Linked DNA regions of Homo sapiens: all the other regions are linked to region 1. The links are contacts of gene promoters, found by promoter capture Hi-C in human tissues and cell types (Jung and others, 2019). All regions are on one chromosome and are shown on one strand. Each heading gives the region's core, a stretch centred on a gene start or on the middle of the fragment in contact. The rest is flanking DNA. Distances are from core to core; before and after follow the strand shown. Region 1 holds the start of TBC1D21 (TBC1 domain family member 21). Region 2 overlaps LOXL1-AS1 (LOXL1 antisense RNA 1). Region 3 has its middle 36 kb from the start of TBC1D21.

Region 1 (3,898 bases), core at 388-2,887:
AAGGGTTATCACCTACAATTCACAGATAGGATGCCAGAGGTTAAAAGAAGTTCAGTAGTTGATCTATGTTCACCATGTTCGTTTTAGAAGCCAGGTTGAATTGAGCCCTCAGATGTTTCCAATTCCCGACCTGATCCTCATCTTCTCAAGGAACAATTGCAGTGAATCCTCAGTTGCCTACGTGGTTAATGTGGAAGAACAGAGACATAGATAATCCTAAATGATGTCTATGTCTCTTGCTCTAAACATTTGCTTTGGAAACTTCTTGCAGACCTTAGAATGAAGCCACCCTAATGTGCAAGGGGCCCCATCCTTACTCCACACCTTCCCTACTCAACGTTGCCCACCTCCCACTCCATGAAGACCTAGGGGCAGTAGATCAAAGGGAAGAGGCTCTTAACTCTCTCCTAGGTTGAGCTAGGGTAGTGGGTAGAGGAGAGAGGCCGATAATAAGGCATTTTGATTTAAAAGGCCTTCTGCAGTGCCGCAGGCAAGCAGAACAGAAACAGTAAATGAGACAATGAATTGTGTCCGTGGAAGACTCCATATGGACAGTGATTCATTATGTTAATAAGGAGGTGAAAGCCAGAGGTTGACTGTATTCTGATTTCATGTCTGGGGAATCTGTAGCTCAGAAGCGGGGAGCATCCAAATTTGAGGTCAGAGTCCAAATTCCAACACCCAGCTCCTGATTCCAATTTGGTTGGTCGAATTACTATCATCTCCTAATGACTAAGGATGCTTTAGAGCCAGATGGGACCTGAGTAGAAGTGCAAGCAATGCTTAAGGTGGAGAAGAGTGATGCTGGAGCCAAGCAGAGCCAACTCCTTGGGTCCATGCAACAAATATTGAGCACCTACCAAGTGCCAAGTGATGGCAGAACTGGCATTGGGAGAGGGAACCACAGAGGAATCTGATGTTGACCCTGGCCTAAAGGAACTCAGGGTAGGAGGTGATATGGGGCAGGCACAAATCTCTGTCATACATACAGAGAGGGAAGTGAGATGAGGTCTAAGACAGCTTCATTTATTCTCCCATTCAATTAAATCATTAACTCAGCTACTCAGGCACGATCGTAAGTGCTCCAAATAAAAAGCTAAACAAAACTGATCTCCACCCCAGAAGCTACCATTCCAATGCTGAAGCTAAGTCACCCCAGGAGGCATATCAAAACACATTCCCCAGCCCCCCAGGCCCCAGCACTGACATACTGATTCTGAATCTTTATAACTGGTACCCAAGACATCTGAAGCCTGGTTTCTAGTTATTCTCCAACTTTGGGCACTGGTCTGGTGGAATAGGGAGGGAGTCCAGCTAAGAGAGTCCAGAGGAAGAGTCAGAGATAGAGAGCAAGGCTTCATGGCCCACCTCTCCCTGGAAGCCCTCCTTGACCAGCACAGCCCACACTGATCCCCATGTCCTCTGAATCCAACCTCCACTGCGTGTTCTGCAGTTTTGCATTTTTCTGTTTGTTGTTGTTTTTTGTTTTTCTTTCTTTCTTTTCTTTTCTTTCCTTTTTTTTTTTTTTTCCAAAACTAGCAGGTTTAATCCCTCTTCTCCTGCTTGTGTCTCATCTCTAAAGGTGGGTGTTCCCGTGTTCCAGGTCATTGTGATGAGAGTTCCAGGGGACTTGTGACACACTGCTGGCCGGCTCTGTTCAAGTGTGGGAGGTCAGGAGCAGCCAGTTCCTCCTGGGAATGCAACCCATCTCCGAAAAGGATTAAGCATCACTAGGGCTCCAAGTGAGTTCTGATCAGAGGCTGTTCGGAAGACAGCAGGGGCCATGACCACCCTCTCTCCTGAAAACAGCCTCTCTGCCAGACAGTCAGCCTCCTTCATCCTGGTGCGTGTTCTTTGTCAGCTCTGAGTGCCTCCCTCCCCAGCCTCTGGTTGGCACTGGGACCATTTTCCCCTGCTGGGTAGGAAAAGCTAGAACCCTGAGCTAACATAGAAGGTGGAGCAAGGGCGGTTGTACCTTACTCTTACCATCAGCCCAAGGACAGGACTGAGACATCCAAGCCCCCTTTCACCTTCTTTCCAAGCCAGCAAAACCTTCTCCACATATGTGCTATTCTAACTTTATTGAGTTGTAGGTTTGCAGGTGCGAACCTGAAGATGCTGATAGATTTTCATCGGTGCTTTTTGCCAACAATTTTGGTATACTGCCACCAGGTGGCAGTAATGCTTTTGTTAGTAGGTAGTTCTAAACCCAGTTTACAAGATACAGCTATTTGTTAGAAGTCGGCTTCAGTCATAAAAATTTTCCACACGGTATTTTTTCAAAATCATAACTAATTACAATAACTTTAGCCAATCTTAAGTCTCATTAATCATAGTGATTAAGAGAGTGATACATAAAAATGCAAAATGGACACTCCTCTCCCTGAGTTTTAAATGTTACTGCTTTATGGCAAATTATCACCAGGCCTTGCTTTAAATTTTCTTTATATCTTTCTCATTTCTCTGAGCTTAGAGAAGGCTAATAAAATAAACTGTCACATAGCATTTATTATGTACGATGAATGTTCTAAATGCTTTATTTATAGTCATTCATTCTCATCACAACTCTATGAAGTGAATAATGCTGTTGTCTTCCTTTTATAAATGAGAACATGGAGCCACAGAGACTTTGTCACTTGCCTACAGTCACACAGCTTGTTAAGTGGCAGAAGTTGTATTTCGACCCAGACAGGTGGGGTGCAAAACTCAGTATTCTCAAAGTGTGGCATCCAAACCTGCAGCATTAGCACCAACTGGGAACTTGTAAGAATGCAGACTCTTGGGCCCCAGATCTTCTGAACCAATAAACTGGAGACGAAGCCCAGAGATCTGTGTTTTTTGTAACTCATCCCTCCAGGGCACTGTGATGCACAATTAGCTTTGTGAACCACTGTTTTAAACCATTTTCTTCATCACGGTGCTGTACTGATGATACACCCTCCACACCTGGGTTGGTAATAATTGCTGAAGTGGGAACCCCTTGTTACGGTTGGGAGTCTATCTTGTCCTCAGGTGAACTGGAGTAGAAAAGAGAACCTGTCCAGGTGCAGTGGCTCACGCCTGTAATCCCAGCACTTTGGGAGGCCGAAGCGGGCAGATCACCTGAGGTCGCGAGTTCAAGACCAGCCTGGCCAATATGGCAAAACCCTGTCTCTACTAAAAAATACAAAAAATTAGCCAGGCGTGGTAGTGAGTCCCTGTAATCCCAGCTACTTAAGAGACTGAGGCAGGAGAATCACTTGAACCAGGGAGGTGGAGGTTGCAGTGAGCTGAGATTGCGCCACTGCACTCCAGCCTGGGCGACAGAGTGAGACTCCATCAAAAAAAAAAAAAAAGAAGAAGAAGAAGAAGAAAGAAGGAAGGAAGGAGGGAAGGAGGGAAGAAGGGAAGGAAGGAAGGGAGGGAGGGAGGGAGGGAGGGAAGCTTAAGCAAAGTCAATGACCTTCCCTGGGCTTTATTGGAGGTTCTGTGGCTATGAGTATTCAGAGAAACTTGGCATTAAAACCCTCATAAAAAGTTTTTCTTGTCCTCCAAAGGCTTTCTTTTTTTACTGAAAATATGGGAGAAAACCCCTAACCCAATGATGCAGTGGGGAGAGGAGATTTATGCCTGAAGCCAAGGCCTCTAGCAGCAGGAAACTTTTAGAGGGACTGAGCCACTTAGGGCTCCCACTTCTGGTCCCCTTCCCCAGGGGAAGAATGGCCAAGGCTTCCTCAGGTTTGCTGATGTAGAACTTTAACCTGCCTAGATACACCCTGAAGGTGGGAGATTTCCATAGCTGCTCTATCTAGCAGTACGCTTCCCAGGACACTAGGAAAGGCACCACTGCAGAGCTGGAGGGTATCCAGCCCCCTCGCAAACTGCAGACTTCCCCTCCCGGATTACCAGGTCATTATAC
Region 2 (3,898 bases), core at 583-3,082, 44 kb after region 1:
TTTCTGTGGGTCAGGAATCCAGGTGTGGTTTAGCCAAGTCTTCTGGCTCAAAGTCTCTTACAAGGGTAAAAGTAAGGGGTCAGCCAAGGCTCTGGTGTCATCTGAAGGCTCAACTGGGGAAGGATTTGCTTCTAAGTTCCCTCACATGGCTGCTGGCAGCATGTGGTTCCTCACCAGTTGTTGGACTGTGGGCCTCAGCTCCTGGCTTGCTGTTGGCCAGCCACCACCCTCGGTTCTCTGCCACATGGGTTTTCCATAAGGTGGCTCACAACACAGCAGCTGGTTTCATGAGCACAGGAAAGCAAGAGGGTTAGAGAGACAAAATTACAGCAAAACAGAAATTCGCCTCTTATAACCTAATCTCAGAAGTAACAACCCATCATTTTTTGCCATATTCTATTTATGAGAAGCAAGTCACTAGATCCAGCCCACACACAAAGGAAAGGGATTCTCCAAGGGGGTGACTATCAGAAGGTAAGGATCATTGGGAGCCATTTCAGAAGCTGCCTGCCACAGATGTCATTGCTTTATTTTATGAAAATAAGCACCAAACACACTACATTCATCTATAAAATAAAGCTTCCCTAAAGACCTATAATAAAAAAGACCTTAATAATAGAAAGATATGCCACGTTCCCGGACAGAAGCACTCAATGGTGCAAAGAAGTTGATTATCACTAAATTAATCTACAAAACTAATCCAATTGCAATGTCCAGTGGGATTTGTCTGCTAGTTTATCTCGGCAGAAAAAAAAAGTTTAGAATTTATCTTAAAGAATATATGAATTGCCACAAAGAACACCTCAAAAGAAAAAAATGGGCCAGGCGTGGTGAGTCACGCCTGTAATCCCAGCACTTTGGGAGGTCGAGGCAGGTGAATCACTTGAAGCCAGGAGTTCAAGACCAGCCTGGTCAACATGGTGAAACCCTGTCTCTACTAAAAATACAAGAATTAGCTGGGTGTGGTGGCATGCATCTGTAGTCCCAGCTACTCGGGAGGTTGAGGTGGGAGAATCACTTGAACCAGGGAGGCAGAGGTTGCAATGAGCCGAGATAGTGCTACTATACTCCAGCCTGGGTGACAGAGTGAAACCCTGTCTCAAAAAAATAATAAAAATAATAAAACAAAACAATGGGACTTGTATTCTCAGTCATTAACCCTTATTAAAAAGTTACAATCATTAAAATAGGGCAACAAATACCAATGTAAGAACGATGTGATAGGCCAACGGAACAGAACGGTAAACCCAGTCAAACACACAAAAATATTTAGTGTATGATAAAATGGCCTTTCAGATCATTGGAAAATGATTAATTTATTTATAATTCATTTGGGGATAGTTGGTTAATTTGCTTTAAAGTTATGTTCTTACCTCTCACCACACATGAAGACAAAATGAAGAGTTTAATATAAAAAGTGAAATCATAAAATCTCAGAAGAACATTTAATTGAAAATTTATATGTTCCTGGTGAAGGCAGCGGTTATGCAACAATAAAGTCCAAGACCATAAAGAAAAGATTAATAATCTGACAGCTTAAAAATGAAGCATCAAGAAAGTATTTTAAAAATTGATGGAAATGACAAATTAGTTGCATAATATGTGACAAAGAGTGATATATGAAAAGGTGCTAAATATACATCTTATAAACCAATACTAAAAAGATGAACATTACAATAGAAAATAGTCAAAGAATATGAACAGAAAATTTACCATTCATTCACTCAACAAATATTTATCGAGCACCTCTTCTGTGCCAGACAAGTTTACACATGGGACACAGCAGTGAACAAGACAAAGGACAAAGGTCCCTGCCCCAAGGAGCTTACATTCTATTGGAGAGGGGCAAACAATAAACAAGTAAATTATGAAGTATTTTAGACGGTGATAAGTACTACTGGCAAAAAAGAAAAAGAAGGGTTAAGTAAGGCGATCAGGAGTGAGGCATGGGGAGCTCAGGGGCTGGGGAGGTCTCATCAGGAAGGAGACATTTGAGCAAAGCTTTGAACAGATTCAGGTAGTTGACCACACAGAGCAGGGGAAATTGCCATGGTGCGGCGGAGGGGCAGGAGAAGGCCAAGTTGGCTAGAACAGAAAGAGCAAGGGACCAAGTGGTGAGGACCCTGGAGGCCTTGAACAGGACTTTGGCTTTTAACCTGAGAACCATTGCAGAGCTTTAAGGAGAAGAGTGAAATTTTGACTTATGTCTCAAAAAGGATCATTCTGGCTACCATCTTGAGAGCAGACTTTTGGGGTACAAAGGTAGGAGCAAATAGACCATTTAGGAGGTCAGCAAACACATGGCAACATGTTCACTCTCACGGGTAACCAAAAAAATGCAACTAAAAAAATGTATTCACCTGTTTTTAACCTATCCAATTTTTAATGTTCTTTTAGAAAACAGTACTCAGTATCAGTAAGGGTGAATTACCTTCGGGCAGGTAAATGGGAACCACCTTTCTGGGACCAGCTGGGTATTCTGTGCCAAAGCCTCAAAAACACTCAAACCCTTTCACCAGAAATCCAACTTCTAATAAATTAATCTAAAGGTCTAATAATCGCCAGTACTTATTGAGTGCTTGTATGCACCAGGCTCTGAACTAAACGCGCTCCATATTACCCCCATTTAAATTCTTACCATTATTCCTGTCTTACAGAAAGAAAAAAGGCATGGTGAGTCACACAGTTCACAAATGAGGGCTAGAACCAAACCCAGGCACTGTGACCTGCTACACAGGAGAGGCAGATATGAAGATTTCTTCAAGGGTGCTTATTACAGCATCATTTATAATAGCAAATAAAGTACCCAAAAAAATCAACAAAGGAGGTGATTCATTCAGTTATGATTTGTCCACATAAGTCAGTCATTAAAAATCTGGTTAAAGAAAACTCGTTTCCGATCCAGCCAGGTGCTGAGACAGGCAGAACTTTCCAGAGCTTCTCCTTGGAAGCTGCCAGCTGCTGTGATGTCCTATTTCTTGATCCAGGTGGTAATCCAGAGGTGTGCTCACGTTGGGATCATTCATCAAGTGGTACACCTAGGATTTGTGGACTTTTGTGTGTGTGTATGCTATACTCATGTTTTTAAAAGTTATTTTTGGCCGGGCACGGTGGCTCACGCCTGTAAGCCCAGCACTTTGGGAGGCCGAGGTGGGCAGATCATGAGGTCAGGAGATCAAGACCATCCTGGCTAACATGGTGAAATCCTGTCTCACCTAAAAAAATACAAAAAAATTAGCCGTGCGTGATGGCAGGTGCCTGTAGTCCCAGCTACTTGGGAGGCTGAGGCAGGAGAATGGCATGAACCTGGGAGGCGGAGCTTGCAGTGAGCCGAGATCGCACCACTGCACTCCAGCCTGGGAGACAGAGCGAGACTCCGTCTCAAAAAAAAAAAAAAGTTATTTTAAAAAATTTAAGTTGCCAGGTGTTTCTCCTCCTACAGGGACACAAGAAGGCTGTGGAGCAGGATTCTTGGGCCAGGGATGAGGCCCTAGTTATGTAGACCCAAGGCTGGTAGCCACCACTTGCTCCACGTGGAAATGGCTCTCAAGATTCTGTGGTCTGAGAAAGCCTGGTCCTTCCCATACTGCAGGAAGGAAATGCTATGCAGGAAGCGGCTGGCCTCCTGGGCAGATAGAAATGAAGGTACTCCCCGACCCCACACCCTACCTTCCCATTCCAACCAGTGGGTTGACATTTCCACCTCTAAGTGAAACTGGCAATCTGACTGCAGGCCCAGGATCCAGGTCCAGTCCTGAGGGAGACAAGGTCCTAACAGGGGAGGGACCCACCGCTCCGGAACAGAGAGGGTATCTTGCGGAGTGGGGGACAAAGTCTTGACCTCCTCTTCATCCAGGCAGGCAGGAGCTCCTGTGATCAATATGAATATTGAAACGGC
Region 3 (3,898 bases), core at 828-3,327, 36 kb before region 1:
ATCATTTTGTAGTATAACCATGTCAGAAATATTGCATGGGACATACTTAAACTAAAATTGTCTGTTGTTCTTCTGAAATTCACATTTAAGTGGGTGTGCTGTGTTTTTATTTGCTAAGTGTGTGGTACCCTACTGGGGAAGGAAGGAGGGGATAAAAAGAATAAGAAATGTTTCTTGCCCTCAGAACAATCTCACAGTCTGGTTGGACATCACAGAGCTCAAATGATTCCAACCCATGTAGTCAGTGGTCTGGTAGCAGCGTTTCTCAACACGATGCGCACAGGTGGCACCTGGGGATCTTGTGAAACTGCATACTCTGATTCCGCAGGTCTGGGGTGGAGCCTGAGAGTCTGCATTTCCTACAAGTACCCAGGTGGGGTTGACGATGCTAGTCCCTGACCACACTCTGAATAGGGACAGTGTAGCAAGGAGCAAAGAGGCTGTGGGGGCTTAGAGGAGTTGCTCAGCCCACCTTTGGGGGTCAGGGAAAAGCTTCTTGGAGAAGGTGATAGGTAACTGGTGGGTCTTGGCTGGTAAACACTTGGGGAGGGAGGTGGAGAAAGTGTCCCAGGAGGAGGAAGCACGATTTTTGGAGTCTCAGAGGTGTGAGAAACTACTGCAAATCTGGGAAGGGTGTGGGTGAGTGTGGATGGAGGCTAGATTTGGGGTTGCAAGCAGTGCTGGAGTCTGGGCATCAGAAATTCATCAGACAGATGGGGTCCTTGTCATCACAGACCCCACCAAGCCCATCAAGTGGCAGAGCCAGGGCCATGGATAGACCAGCACCATCCAGTGTGGCCGGGGATGAATTGGAACCAATCACTGGAGTGGGGGAGCCCAGGGAGGGAGCCATGTACTCTGCCTGGGAGTTGGAGAAGGTGTCCTCCTGCGCAGCAGGGTATTTGGGGACAGGGTCTTGGAGGTGAAAGGGACTTTTTTTTTTTTCAAGGGCTGAGAGGAAGAGAGGTGAATGTCTTACAAGAGGGGCCAAAATGGAGATGAAAAAGTTTGCTATGTTTCGGAAGAGTGGCTTCCTTGAGGACAGCAACCATGTCGAGTCCTTCTTCTCTGGATTCCCGGTGCTCAGCATGAGGCTTTGTCAGCATGGGGCAGAAGGCTAGATCAGCTGGCAAGGTAGCCCAGAGCCTCTACTCCAAGCCCTCGTTCATTTTGCTTTATCTCTCCACACCATGGTCAGAACATCAGTGGCGGAGGAACTTGTCATACTGGCAGACTTGGATTCACGGCTGGGGTTCTGGAATCTGTAGTAGTTAAACGGTCTTGGAGTACTTCAGAGTTAGCAGAGCTGGGGTAGTCACTCTCATAAGGCTTGTTCTCATCTTCTTAGGGTTTATCACAGCACGCAGGACAGATTGCTAGTGTTCTTCTGCGTCCGTTCTCTCCCTCTTCCTTGGCTAAATAGATTGCCTGCATTATAGATGGGTACGTGGCATCTCAGAACAAAATCTACATTTCCTAGCTTCCCTCGGTGTGGTCATGGAACCAGGTTCTGGCCAGTAGGGTGTGGTAGGTGTCACTTGAGAATCAGTCTGGGTGTAGCACAGGAAGAAAATACTATTCTAGGTATTCCAGACAGAAAGAGATTTAATAGAGGGATCTGGTTGCTTACAAATTCCTTGGCAGGACTGGAAGCATGAAGGTTGTGGGATGTTGTTAGCGTTTCCAGTCACATCACAGGAGCTACAAACCAGAGGTCAGGAAGCTCCGGGAAACTGCTGCCAATGTCATAGCCACCCCCAGCTGCAATGAGGCCAGACAGTGGACTGGAGGATCCCAGGGGCCAGAGGCTGCAGGCCAGGTGCTTCTGCCGCCTAAGGCAGAACAGCTTCAGCCATCTTTCTCCCTTGCAAATAGCATGTGAGTAAAGCTCATTGGCTGGAACTAGTGACATCCAGAATCCTGGTGGCAGGAGTCTGACAAACACAGTACTGAGGCTTCCAGGCTCTGTAATACAGTGAAAGCATAGCAGGCGGGGAGGGGGAGCAGGCTGAATGCTACCTGGTGATATTCACTATCACTCCTTCTTGCCAGCGGGGGTAGGATGCAGTGGCAAGGACAACTTCCTAGGATGGCAGAGAATCATGGTAGCAGTCACAGAAATGCCACCCAGGCTGGACCTTTGCATAGATAAGAAATAAACTTCTACCTTGTTGAAGTCACCGAGCAGCTGAGCCCATGTCCTGTCACACCGCTATTAAGTGTAAAATGAGGTCTGAGAAGTGTTAATACTCTAGCGTGCATCGTGTTGATGTTACTGTAGTTTCAATTGAACCTGCCCATCAGGAGTGCAGCAATAAAAACTCATTGGCAGACAAAGCAATATTCAGGGCTGTGTGTAGCTGTTGCCAAATGAGAGCCATTGAGTCTATGCTGAGGGAAGCTGGAGAGAGCTCAGAGGATACAGGGGTGTTGGAAGCCTTCCTGGAGGAGGCATTGCTGGAGATGGAGAGGAGAAAAGCTCTCCAGTGGAGGCCATTTTTCTCTTCTCTCTCCAGAGCTGTATCAGCCAGGGAGCTGCCCCACCCTGCCTCCAACCTTGGCCTCTCCTGGTCAAGGCTGTGAAAGGCCAGGAGGAGGGTGGCAGGGTGCCTGCGGTTAACCCCGGGAGCAGACTCTTAAGCTGGGGCAGGATAGAGACCAGAAGGATGGCCTGGGAGATGGGGAGGAAAGGAGAGGTTCAGCATTGCTCCAGAGGGAGAGGCCCGTGACTCTGAGACAGTTCTCAGCTGTATCTACAAGACTCTGAGGACAAAGATGGGGACAGACACATTCAAGGAATGGCCTCAAGGTCATGAAGTGGTGCCTGATTCTGCCTTGCCCCCTGTCTCGTCTGCCTTGCAGCTCCTCCCCAGGAAGAAACACTATTCACCCTTCATACAGGGGGCCTCAAGTAGGCCTGTGACCTGGGGAACAAGGGCCGTCCTATGAACCCATGACAGGCACAGGGCTAGGGATGCACCCAACCAGCTATTCTCTCTTCACCCATTTCTGTGAGAAGTAAGTGATTAGGATGTGGGGATAGACCCAAACTGGCCAGGGTCAGGGCCGAGTTTCAATTTATGACCAAGGTTTAGACTGTTCAGGATGAGAGAGTGGTCCAGGGAAGGATCAGAGATTAGACAGCCACAGGGACCAACCTGTGGCCACAGCTTTGTCTGTGCCAGAACCATGGTTCAGTCTAGTACCGGAGTCTGTTTTTTTTTTTTTTTTTTTTGAGACAGTATTTCACTTTGTCACCCAGGCTGGAGTACAGTAGCATGATCATGACTCACTGCAGCCTCCACTTCCCAAGGTGCAAGCAATCCTCCCTCCTCAGCCTCCTGAGTAGCTGGGACCACAGGCATGTGCCACCATGCCCAGCTGATTTTTAAAAATTTTTTGTAGTGATGGGTCTCACTATGTGGCCCAGGCTGAAGGATTCACTTTTCATGGGGAAAGAGTGTTTAACACAGTGGATGAATTCAATTTCATTAGTTCCCTTGGTAATAAACCAAAATGAAAGGCTATTATAAGTGTGATTTATTCCCTTATATCATAGTTAACCTTCATTTCACTTCCGGGGGCCCTCTTTACTCTTCCCCAAAACTTGTGGTTTAGACCTTCTGACACTTTGGTAGAAGAGGATATACAGACACAGAGGAGGAAAACGAGCTGCCTGAATTCTCATGCAACTTCAGAAAGGGCTAGAGCCAGGCGAGAAGCCAGTTGAGCAGGTGCCCAGCACAGGGCAGCCTGGTGGACTCACAGCTTCCTGCAGTGTTTTGGAGACAAGCCCCAGGTCACCCTGAAACCCATGGGCAGGCAGTGGACAGGCAGGCCGACAGCCGGCTGGAGGAGTTGGCAGCAGGGAAGTCCCGGATCAGAGCCTTGGGCCACA

Evidence for each region. The method cuts DNA at HindIII sites, captures the fragments that hold promoters and counts their contacts. A contact is called where the count stands out against the background at its distance.
Region 2: a contact is called between a fragment that was not itself captured here and the fragment with the promoter of TBC1D21 in region 1, in 2 of the 25 tissues and cell types used here (H1 embryonic stem cells and spleen).
Region 3: a fragment that was not itself captured here is called in contact with the fragment with the promoter of TBC1D21 in region 1 in 1 of the 25 tissues and cell types used here (psoas muscle).

What each region holds. Positions count from the first base shown.
Region 1 is chr15:73,871,927-73,875,824 of GRCh38, forward strand. It overlaps TBC1D21 (TBC1 domain family member 21), which reads left to right and starts at 1,638. Exons shown (of 11, transcript NM_153356.3): 1 at 1,638-1,843. The coding sequence starts at 1,784. It overlaps LOC102723657 (a long non-coding RNA gene), which reads right to left and starts at 1,609. Exons shown (of 6, transcript XR_932455.3): 1 at 1,369-1,609; 2 at 17-177. The HindIII fragment of the contact is 7,159 bases long and covers 1-3,898 here.
Region 2 is chr15:73,916,169-73,920,066 of GRCh38, forward strand. LOXL1-AS1 (LOXL1 antisense RNA 1) reads right to left here. Exons shown (of 3, transcript NR_040069.1): 2 at 3,792-3,870; 3 at 1,300-3,215. Among named protein-coding and RNA genes, the nearest start is that of LOXL1, 8.3 kb to the right of the region's middle. The HindIII fragment of the contact is 5,743 bases long and covers 1-3,898 here.
Region 3 is chr15:73,835,116-73,839,013 of GRCh38, forward strand. No RefSeq gene overlaps it. Among named protein-coding and RNA genes, the nearest start is that of TBC1D21, 36 kb to the right of the region's middle. The HindIII fragment of the contact is 6,547 bases long and covers 1-3,898 here.